4 separate regions of the Homo sapiens genome follow, and all the other regions are linked to region 1. The links are contacts of gene promoters, found by promoter capture Hi-C in blood cells and fetal thymus (Javierre and others, 2016). All regions are on one chromosome and are shown on one strand. The core of a region is centred on a gene start or on the middle of the fragment in contact, and the rest is flanking DNA. Distances in the headings are between cores, read along the strand shown. Region 1 holds the start of LDB2 (LIM domain binding 2). Region 2 has its middle 22 kb from the start of SNORA75B. Region 3 overlaps LDB2 (LIM domain binding 2). Region 4 has its middle 2.3 kb from the start of SNORA75B.

Region 1 (2,700 bases), core at 174-2,673:
CCCTGTTGGCTAGTGACTTGGAGATACCCAAGCCATGATTGGGGCAGAAAGTTAATTAATCTGCTTATTAAAAAGAAGAAATGTCTCATTTGCATGCATTTGCATTCAGGTCTTGAATTCATTATGCTTTTTGGTGGTCCTTTGCTTTATTTCCTTAATACCACTGACCTACCTAGGTGTTAGCTCAATACATTTAAATTTTGTGTGGCTGGGCTTTGTTTAAGTGTCGTATCTCTGGTTATAGTGGGTTCTAGCAGAATTTGATTATTTTATAGATTGTTTAATTCTCTATAGAGATTTTCCCCTTCCATGGGCTGTTGGGATTTCTTATGGTTATCATATACCACAGTTGGGAAAATATTTGTTTACTTGACCAATCTTGGAAAATACAGACTTTGTCTCCATAAGAGTTGGACATGTTATCTGGGGATGATCCATTCAATTATTTGCAATTTCCTTCTCAACCAAATTTTCCGTGGTCATTTTTGTGGCAGTTTTCTCCTTCTTTGCTTTTCCTGTCTTATTGGGAGGTCTGTTTGGGTTTTTTGTTTGTTTGTTTGTTTGTTTTTCCTTCCTGGGAAAAAAGACCATTGCTCTCCTTAAGTGTATTTTATACCTTCCACATTCAGAACGACTGTTTTTACCTGAAAATGCCCAGGCACCTTAAGGGCCTGAATGAAGTCTTTGGAGAAGAGGGAGGTGGCTGGGAAGAGGGGTGAGTGGGGAGAGATGGGAGTGAGATGGAGTGGAGGGCAAAGAATATAACAGCCCTTGGAACAACAGCAAGTAAAGCAAAACTACATAGGGAGATTAGTGCTGAAATAAATCTCTGCATGTGAGTGAATCACCGGTCCCAATTCGGGGCACCACAGTGCCCGTGTTTCTGTATTTTGTAGTAATCAACATTTCTGATACATTACAACAGTGTGGTTGTCAGGGGTGAGCGGCTCATGTAGCGGTTAGACCACCTCTATGCTAACAAGCTTAGCAATCAGGTTGTGAAGGGTCCTGGCTGGAGGAAAAAAATTAAAACCAAACCTTAGACCTCTTGTCAGACTGTGAGGAGAATTATATTTGTGAACTAGTCTACAATGTGGACAGGAAATGACCTCTCCACAAACTGCTTCTTTAAAAACAAGCAGTGGTGCCTAAAGCTATCCAGCTCCTCTCTCTCTCTCTCTCTCTCTCTCTCTCTCTCTCTCTCTCTCTCTCTCTCTCTCTCTCTCTCTCCCCCTCCCTCCCTCCCTCCTCCCTCCCTCCCTCCCTCCCTTCTTCCCTCCCTTCCTCCATACCAACCTCCCTCCCTCTCTGGAGCTCCTGCTCTCTCCCTCTCCCTCCTCTCCCGTGCTCCCTCCCTCCCTCCCTCTTTCCCTCCCTCCTCTCCTCTCCCTCTCCTCTCCTGCTATAGAGGGCTCCGACAGCAGTTCCCAGCCAGCGTGTTCAGCCTGCCTGCCTGCCTGCCTCTGTGTGTGTGTGAGCGTGTGTGCGTGCGTCTACTTTGTACTGGGAAGAACACAGCCCATGTGCTCTGCATGGACGTTACTGATACTCTGTTTAGCTTGATTTTCGAAAAGCAGGCAAGATGTCCAGCACACCACATGACCCCTTCTATTCTTCTCCTTTCGGCCCATTTTATAGGAGGCATACACCATACATGGTACAGCCAGAGTACCGAATCTATGAGATGAACAAGAGACTGCAGTCTCGCACAGAGGTAAGTACTTCAACCTTGGGGATGTGTTTGTGTATTTTTGTTAAGCTATGCATGAGCTTTTCCTAGGGTTTCTGGCTGAATTCTATGGGAAGTGTCCCACTTGATACTACCACGTACGTGGAAATGAGCGCCAGGATGAATCCACGAGTTTGGACGCTGGGTTTCCAGGCACAGCAACTCTTGTAGCAGAGGACAGTTTCTGCCGGAATCTTGAGACAACCCAGCACTTGATTCACATGCCGGGTTTCCAGAAATGTTGCTCTTCCAGAACTCTGGTGTTTTACAGGCTCTGAGTCAGTCCTGTTGGTGTTTCTTGAGATATAATTCCAAGGAATTTTGTGATTGTTTGCATCTGGCTATATATATATATACATATGTGTATATATATATATATATATATATATATACATATGTGTATATATATATATATATATATATATATATATATATATATATATTTTCTTTTTTACAAATCCTAGAGGAAGTCTGCTTTGACCTGTATTTACTTTTCAGAGTCACCAAAATCGAGGTAAAAAGGGGCAGAAGAGTAAACCTGCCTACTTCTCAGAACTAGCCCTGGAGGGACACATGTTTGTATATTTCAGTGTTAAAATCAGAAACCAGTTGCTTGGGGCAAGGGGACTCTAGACTTTCTCCTATTGCTGTCGGCCGTGCCCCCCTATCACTCTACCTTAGGACAGGAGCTGGTTCAGCTTTCAAGTCAGCTCTAGTTTTTGCATATTTGAGATCTTGTGCCTGAGAGAGGGAGACTCAGCCTCCTAGGCAGCCAGCAACTCTGGGAGCAGAGAGAACAGGACTTTCAGAACTTTTTAAATGCAAAACTCCAGACTCGCCTCCTGCAATTTAAATATTTTATGTCAGTTGACTTTTTCTCTGTGCTAGCTCAGCTGGCAGGTCTTGCTGCTGGATTGTCCATCTGCCTGTAAGTTGGGGCTTTGTGTGGAAGTGTTCGGAAAAGGAGTTTG
Region 2 (2,700 bases), core at 159-2,658, 440 kb before region 1:
TGAGTTTTAATCTAGAATACCAATAATTCACCTTCATTTCAAATTTTTATCCAAATAGCTTCATCTTAAGTCACATAGGTCTCTTTAATTGCATCTTATAGTTTTTTCCTCTAGATAATAACGTTAGTTTTAAGTGTGTTTGAAAAAGGATTTATTCATCAACACAGGTAGCTAAGGTTTTATACTTCTAGCTAGAGCGAGCTGCACACATATGCATATATGTATTTAATTTAAGTTTGTATAAGTACTCACATATTCATAAATCCTAACAAACTTCAAAGTTTCTAAATACAGTTTATCTGTAAAATTGAGGTATCAGTGATGACCTCATAGATTTGTTGAAAGAATTGAATGACATATCTATGTAACATGCTTAGAATACTTCCTGACACAAAGGAGTGCTACATATATGTGTTTATTACTATTATTAGTAGTAGTATAATTTGCGTTGTATTGGTGAAGGATCATGATAATAGAAGACTTTCAGAAGGAGGTGATATTTAAGCGGAATTTTGAAGTTTGGAGAAAGAAGAGAAAGGATTAGTGAAGTGGAGAAAGACACAGAGAGTGAGCACAGCCTAAGGCACCAACAGTATATGCAGGGAAGTTCTGGGGTGAGAGGGAGACTAAAGTGGGCTATGCTAATTCATTTGGAATTTATTCTAAATATCAAGCAGGAGCCATTAAAGACCTCTCCATTATAAATGAGATAATCAAATACTTGTTTATCCTAAATACACATTTATCCTAAAGAAGTAGCTAAGCAGGTGCCCAAAGATGTATGTATGTTCAAGAATGCTCATAAAATATTGTCTCTAGTATCAAAAATTTGGAAACAACCTAAATATTCAGCCGTAGAAAATTCATTAGTTTATACTGAAGTCATTATGATGTTTACATGCTCTTATGTATTGACATGAAAAGTTGTGCAAGATTTCCTGTTGAGTGAAAAAAACACAACAGCCAGGTTTAAAAATAGTTATAGTATTGTTTTGCAAATATATGTACATGTTTATATGAGTTGGTATGCTAGGAAAATTCTGGAATGTTTACATTAAGGAGTTAGCAGTAGTTATTTTTTGGTTGTGGAATTCAGAGTGATTTTAATTTAATAATTTTTATTTTTGTTATCTATGTTTACCAGTCATTTTATAATAAATATGAATTAGTGATTTGATTAACATAACAAAATGAAAGTAGTTATATTCTGCGGCATTAATGTTCATCAATGAAGGGGAAAAACTCTTCTGTGCTAGAGGGAACAATCTTAGTAGAATGTGTGTGGAGCCATGGGTGGAGGTAGGATTTCGAGAAGGTGGGTGGGAGGAGGGCTTATAAGCCTAACTCCTACTGCATTTACCCCTCCTGAAACCCCATTTATCTTCTCCCTTTCTTGGCATATCTTCCTATTGAGACAGAGATTCTCAGCTGGCTTGCTGCTAACATCTTGTCAACCTTCTCAGATACTCTGCTAAATTTTGATCGAAGTGTAAAAATGCATTTTTGCTAGAACCGCATATACCATGGCAAGGTCTATAGTGTTGTGAGGGACATGACGTTCTATCTAAGTCAATCCCAGTTCCATGTTACTTCTGAAATTTTTATACTTATGTAACAGTATTACACACACTAGCCTTGAATGATGGAGAGATGGGTTCTATTTGTATCATTTATTACTCTTGTTACAATTTTGGGCAACTCGTCGAACTGGTAGAAATGTCAGTTTCACAAACTTTAAAATGAGTGAGTATAAGTAAAAAATGCCTATTGCGAAGGATAGTTTGAGGTTTAACAACCATATAATGTGTGTGAAGATGCTTAGGAAACCCCAACTGTAACAGATGTTTATGGAGTGCCTAGTATGTGTTGGGTAGTGTTAGGTAATGTGCGAGGTGCTAAAATTGAAGTGACCCACAGATGCAATGATCCTACACAGTCCTCTGGGTACCTGGTAATAGTCCCAACTGGTGTCTCCCCATGTCACATTAGATGATAACCTTGTGCACTGTGGCTTGTGTCTATTTGTGTGTTTTGAAGTTGAAGTCATTGACTTGTTGAGATAGGTCACATTTATAGATTGATTAGACATTGAGTCCCAGGAACTGATTCAGTGAGGGTTTGGGGGTGAATTTCACAGTGATTTTTCAGAAATTGTGAGAGTTGTTATCATGAACGTATGTTTGTTTTTTTTTTTTTTATGACCTGGACTTTTGTTTGTCTGCCTCCAAGAGGGAACAGTAGAGAAGGATGATCTGCGAATTGGTTGTGATGGTTGAAGGGTTTATGTTCAAAAAGTGCTTCGTATGCTTGAAAATATTGTTCAGTTATTGCACGTGGTTCCAATAATCATCACTATCCTCAGTGTATTAGTCCATTCTCACACTGCTATGAAGAACTCCCTGAGACTGGGTGATTTATGAAGAAAAGAGGTTTAATTGACTCACAGTTCCACAGGCTTAACAGGAAGCATGACTGGGAGGCTTCAGAAAACTTAACAATCATGGTGGAAGGTGAAGGGGATGCAAGCACCTTCTCATGGCAGCGGGAGAAAGAGAGAGAGAAGGGGGAAGTGCCACACATTTCTAAACCATCAGATCTCATGAGAACTCACTCACTCACTATCATGAGAACAGCAAGGGGCAAATCTGCCTTCAAGATCCAATCACCTCCCACCAGGCCCCTCCACCAATTCCATGTGAG
Region 3 (2,700 bases), core at 194-2,693, 380 kb after region 1:
TGTGATTTCCTAAGACAGGATAGTTTTGTTAATATACTTAAAGCATTTTTAAGGATTCCCTCTAAGGGCAGAGATTGTGTTATTCTCATTTTTGTGTCCCCAGCACCGAGCAGAATGCTTGATACTTAGGAGGAAGCTCAATAAATGTTTGTTTGTTGATGTAAAGTAATAGAAATGTAGTTTGTATTGCAACCTATGCATGCTTGCTAATATATAATTAATAATATCTACAGATTATTAAATAGTCATGCATTAGACATATTAACTCAAATTCTCACAACAGTATATAAGATGGGTATTGTTTTGCAGGTGAAACTGAAACCCAGTGTTTTTAAATAACTTACCCAAGGATGCATATCTAGTGAGAGTCAAAATCCATACCTAGGCTGGGCGTGGTGGCTCACGCCTGTAATCCCAGCACTTTGGGAGGTCGAGGTGGGCAGATCATGAGGTCAGGAGATTGAGACCATCCTGGACACACGGTGAAATCCCGTCTCTACTAAAAAAAATACAAAAAATTAGCTGGGCGTGGTGGCGGGCGCCTGTAGTCTCAGCTACTCAGGAGGCTGAGGCAGGAGAATGGTGTGAACCCAGGAGGCAGAGCTTGCGGTGAGCCAAGATCACACCACTGCACTCCAGCCTGGGCGACAGAGCGAGACTGTCTCAAAAAAATAAATAAATAAATAAATAAATAATAAAATAAATAAATAAATAAATAATCCATACCTAGACTTCTTAGCTTGTAAATCCATGTTTGTTCCACTCCACCCATGTATTTTATCTCCAGCATAAGCTCATTTACAATAAGTGGTAAATGAACCAAATGAAAATAATTTGAAAATGTTGAAAAGATTTTTAACTGTTTTAAATACTAAAAAAAATACTCTAAAATGTTTCCTAGTCTTTAGGATTTCTCTGAAGCTTTTCTTACCATTCTTGCTTAATAATAGATGCAGTGGTACTTCTTTGAGGGATAACCCACTCTTAAATCTACTTGCACAGATGACTGTGGAATCTTTCACTCCTTTTGGTCTGGTGAGCACTGATGGCTTGGAAAGGCAATGAAGTAGTCTGTAACTTACACTTTGATTTGTAGTAGCAAAGCATCTTTTTTTACAATTTTTATTTTAGATTCAGGAAGTACATGTGCAGGTTTGTGACACATGCATGTTATGTGATGCTGAGGTTTGGGCTTCTATTGACACCGTCACTCAAATAGTGAACATAGTACCTGATAGGTAGTTTTTCAACCCTCCCTCCTGCTTTTGGAGTGCCCAGTGTCATTGTTCCCATCTTTGTGCCCATATGTACCCAATGTTCAGCTCTCTTTTGTAAGTGAGAATATGCAGTATTTGGTTTTCTGGTTTTGTGTTCAGTCACTTAGGATAATGGACTCCAGCTGCATCCATGTTACTACAAAGAACATGATTTTGTACTTTTTTATGGCTGTGTAGTATTCTATGGTGAATGTGTACCACATTTTCTTTATCCAATCCACCACTGATGGGCACTTGGGTTGATTCCACGTCTTCGCTATTGTGAGTGGTACTGCAATGAACATATGAGTAAAGGTGTCCTTTTGGTAGAAGGATTTATCTTCATTTGGGGATATACCCTGTAGTGGGATCAGCAAGGAATTCTTAACAGAGTAATGCACACAGAGTCTTCATAATGTTGGAATATGGAGTTAACTCTATAGTAATCTTGCCTTTTTCACAGGTTTTTCCATATTAACACTTTAGATTTCAAAAAGGACATCAAAGTAAGCAAGATTGAAGATCCAGCATTACTAACCCAGGTCTCATTACTTTACAGCCTGGTTTATTAGGGTTGGTGTCTTGGCCCCTGTGATGTGCATATTCCTTGTGTTGTTCAGGCTTTAATCTTATTGTCTTCCAGAGAAATTACAAATGAAAGAAAAGTGCAGCTGGCCCTTAAATGGGGTGAGTGGTTTAAGCAAGCTTAGGTCAGTAATAGGTACAAACAACTGAAGAACCTTTCTAGGTAAACATAATTATCATGCTTAGACTTAAGAAGGAAGGAAGAGAACATGAGACAGTTGGTGGAAGTGAGAAGAGGATGGATTTAGAACTGGACACCACTGGGGGTTTGTGCAAGTCTTGCTGTCTCTATTATCTGTTCGAAAGCCCTGGATATATAGGTAAGTGGACCTCAAATTCTAGTCGTGTTTGTCAGAATTATGTGAGGGCATAGGGATACAAAAGTGTGATTCCTTTTCTTACCTATTATAAGGGTCACTCCTATAACAAAAGACAAGTTAACAAGAGAAAAGTATAACATATTTATTGAATCAAAGTTTTACATGACACAGGAGCCTTGAGAATGAAGACCCAAAGATACAGGAAAAATGATTCATTTTTATGTTTAGGCTCAATGAGGAATGCACAACTGTGTTGGACTGTGATTGGACAAAGAGAGTATGACCTAATGGGAATAACTGAATAGGGAAACGCAGCAAGGCCTGTCTGTTCAGATTCTTCTTTGTCTCTCCGTTCAGCATTCCTTCCTCCTGGATATGGGACAGGATCCTTGCTGGAATGTGGGTCTTATGACCTACTTCCAAAGCAGGTCACAGAATTTCTTTATGGTCAGCTCTTATACAGAAAGGCAGGGAAAAGTTAGAATAATATGTTTAGATTTTATGTCTACCTTTGGCGGGGATAGGTTCTGGTTTCTATG
Region 4 (2,700 bases), core at 140-2,639, 420 kb before region 1:
CGTGGGGTCGCTAGTGATCTAAGAGACTGGTTCGCGAAGGTGGTACTGTAAATGTGTGGTGCTTCAGCGAACAGATTCTGGGGGTGGTTTATGAAATTTTCTTTTTGTCTCTCCCTTCAGCTCCAAAATTCACTCGAAGACTTGATCACATCATTAGTGTTGAGAGAATCATAAGCAGCTGCCAGAGATTGTGTTCAGAGCCAGACCGTGGTATCTCATGCCCACCTCAAAAGAAAAGAAAAAGGAAAAAATCATGGTAATCCTGGGGTGCAACTGGCTCTCCTTTTAGACTCTAACTCAAGCTGCTACATAATGTGGTCTTGCAATTCCTTGGCTTGAGAAGTAGGTCCTGCAAAGTTAAACTGGATGGCATAAAACATGCCTTAGTGATGGAGTCAACCTTTGTCTGGAAGAATCTGGAGTTACCAAAGGCAGAAGCATGGCAAAATTCTCACTGAAGAGCTGATGAGTGTCTCTCTTGGCAATTTTCCTGGTGGGCTTTGCTGATGGTTGAGGTGGGGTGGGGTGGGTGGCAGCAAGCTTGAATGACTGTAGAAATCAGGGAGGGTTCATTAAACAAAAAGTAAATAAAATAAAACAAAAATCTGGAAAGCTCATGTATCTTCCCACACCAGGGACAGGGTACCCACAGCATGCTCGGCACAGACCAGACCCTTTATGGAAAGTCAGCTGAACCTTGCCCTCGGCGTGCAAGGAAAAAAAATGTCTTTTCTGCCAGAAGTGTTGTATAAACATCCTTTTCCTACGATCCTGGATCCTGATCCTCTAGCTCCAGGACCCAGAGGAGCGTGGGGAAAGTATCTTAATGTAGACAGATTTCGAACTCCTGCTGTCCCTTTTCAGATCGTAAATTACCGTTAATGCTGTTTATACTCTTCCCCCTTCCTCTCTTAATAGTTTTAGAAACAGTAATTGACAACAAAATAGAGCCGCAAAGGGTGTAAGGGAGCCCTGCTTGGCTGGCTGAGAAGCAGCCAACTAAGTATCTGTTCATCATGTACGTCTCTGCAACAGAAGTAAAAGATTTACCCACACAGGTGCCCTTCCTTGCTTTCCTTTCGTCATTTTGCTGTGATGGAGCAGGGTACATCTCAATTTCAATTAACTGGAAAGAGAAAAGTTGCGTGTGTTTGCGTGCTTTTTGTCCACCCTGCTCCCTGTACGGGAGGCTGTACAAAGCTGGTGTGGGCTATGGAGCCTGGGGAGGAAGCTGCTCAGAAGTGGATCCCAGGATCTCTGTGGTTCTCTCTGCCCGGGTGTTGTCTTGTTTTGGGGTGCACGGTCCTCGGAAGCAGTTTCCTAAGACAATTCCAGCATGAGGAATATGCCCAGGCTTGAAGTTGGTGAGAGCTGGATTTAAATCCTAGATCAACCCACTTATTTAGCTGTCAACTTAACCTCTTAGAGTCTCAGTGTTCTCCTCTGTAAAATGGGGATAATACAGGTTGAATACCCCTCATCCAAAAATCCAAAACCCGAAATGCTTCAAAATGCAAAACTTTTGGATTTCACATCCAAACTTTTGCCATTGAATGCTGACACAATGTTCAAAGGAAATACCCATTGGAACATTTCAGATTTTGGATTCTCGGAGTAAAGATGCTGAACGCATAAGTATAATGCAAGTATTCCAAAATTAGAAAAAATATCTGAATTCCAAAATACTTCTGGTCCCAAGCATTTTGGATAAGGGATACTCAACCTGTAACAATATTCCCCTAAGGGAGTGGTTTGGAAGATTAAATAAAGCTGTGTTTGTAGAAAAAGTGACTGAGGCCTAGCAAGACATCCATGAATGCCTTTTCTTTTTTCAAAACCTCTTGACTTGTGCTGTCCAAGGTGGTAGTCACATGGGGCTATTGAGCACTTGAAGTCTGGCTACTTGAAACTGACAAGTTCTGTAAGTAGAGAATACACACCAGATATCAAAGACTTAGTAGAGAAAGAAAATAATGCAAAACATCTCATTAATAATGTTTTATACTGATTACATACTGAAATTTTAATACATTGCAAATATTGGATAAAATATATTCTAAAAGTTAATTTTACCTTTTTTAACTTTAAAAAATGTGGCCACTAGAAAATTCAGAATTGGATATGTAGCTTGTATTTGTGGCTCACATTATGTTTCTCTTGGGCTGTGCTTCTGTAGTTTCTCTTTTACTCACCTTCTATTCAAATTCTTTCCTTCTCTTAAGGCCTAGCTCAAGCTTTGCTGTCTTTTTGGGTCCTTTGGGTCAATCTCTCCCTTCCCTAAAATCTCCTAGGGGTTTTGTCATGGAGAGACAGTCACATAATGTGTATTTGTGGGCTGAATTTAAGCAGGAAAAACATATAAAGTGTTTAGCCCAGTGTCTGGCACATCACAAACAAAATAGTATGATTCATTTTTTTTTTTTTTGAGATTACCATTGGAGTCTGGCTACCTAGTTCAGAGCCGGTTTTTTTGCTGCCTTGCATCCTTCTCATGTGTTTAGTCTCTCTTCCTTGTGTGTTTAGTCTTGTTGAATATGCCTGTGAGGACAGAGAACCCGTCTATTTTTCCTGGGTTTGTTCTTAACCCACGAGGCAGCTCTAGCACAATGGATTCTCCCCTATGATTATTCACGGACAAAGCCAGCGCCTGTTGACTAAGCTGTCATCTTGGAGTCATTTGCCATTCTTTCCATTCTTTCC

The links. The method cuts DNA at HindIII sites, captures the fragments that hold promoters and counts their contacts. A CHiCAGO score of 5 or more calls a contact.
Region 2: a contact is called between a fragment that was not itself captured here and the fragment with the promoter of LDB2 in region 1, in 1 of 17 cell types (endothelial precursors). The highest score is 5.9, in endothelial precursors.
Region 3: a contact is called between a fragment that was not itself captured here and the fragment with the promoter of LDB2 in region 1, in 1 of 17 cell types (endothelial precursors). The highest score is 5.3, in endothelial precursors.
Region 4: a fragment that was not itself captured here is called in contact with the fragment with the promoter of LDB2 in region 1 in 2 of 17 cell types (endothelial precursors and M2 macrophages); the score reaches 16.3 in endothelial precursors.

What each region holds. Positions count from the first base shown.
Region 1 is chr4:16,897,368-16,900,067 of GRCh38, reverse strand. LDB2 (LIM domain binding 2) reads left to right here and starts at 1,423. Exons shown (of 8, transcript NM_001290.5): 1 at 1,423-1,714. The coding sequence starts at 1,583. The HindIII fragment of the contact is 2,891 bases long and covers 986-2,700 here.
Region 2 is chr4:17,341,939-17,344,638 of GRCh38, reverse strand. No RefSeq gene overlaps it. Among named protein-coding and RNA genes, the nearest start is that of SNORA75B, 22 kb to the right of the region's middle. The HindIII fragment of the contact is 3,005 bases long and covers 1-2,700 here.
Region 3 is chr4:16,513,849-16,516,548 of GRCh38, reverse strand. The region is part of intron 5 of LDB2 (LIM domain binding 2); the gene reads left to right. The region is part of intron 2 of LOC105374505 (a long non-coding RNA gene); the gene reads right to left. Among named protein-coding and RNA genes, the nearest start is that of TAPT1-AS1, 290 kb to the right of the region's middle. The HindIII fragment of the contact is 1,040 bases long and covers 924-1,963 here.
Region 4 is chr4:17,321,874-17,324,573 of GRCh38, reverse strand. No RefSeq gene overlaps it. Among named protein-coding and RNA genes, the nearest start is that of SNORA75B, 2.3 kb to the right of the region's middle. The HindIII fragment of the contact is 1,694 bases long and covers 543-2,236 here.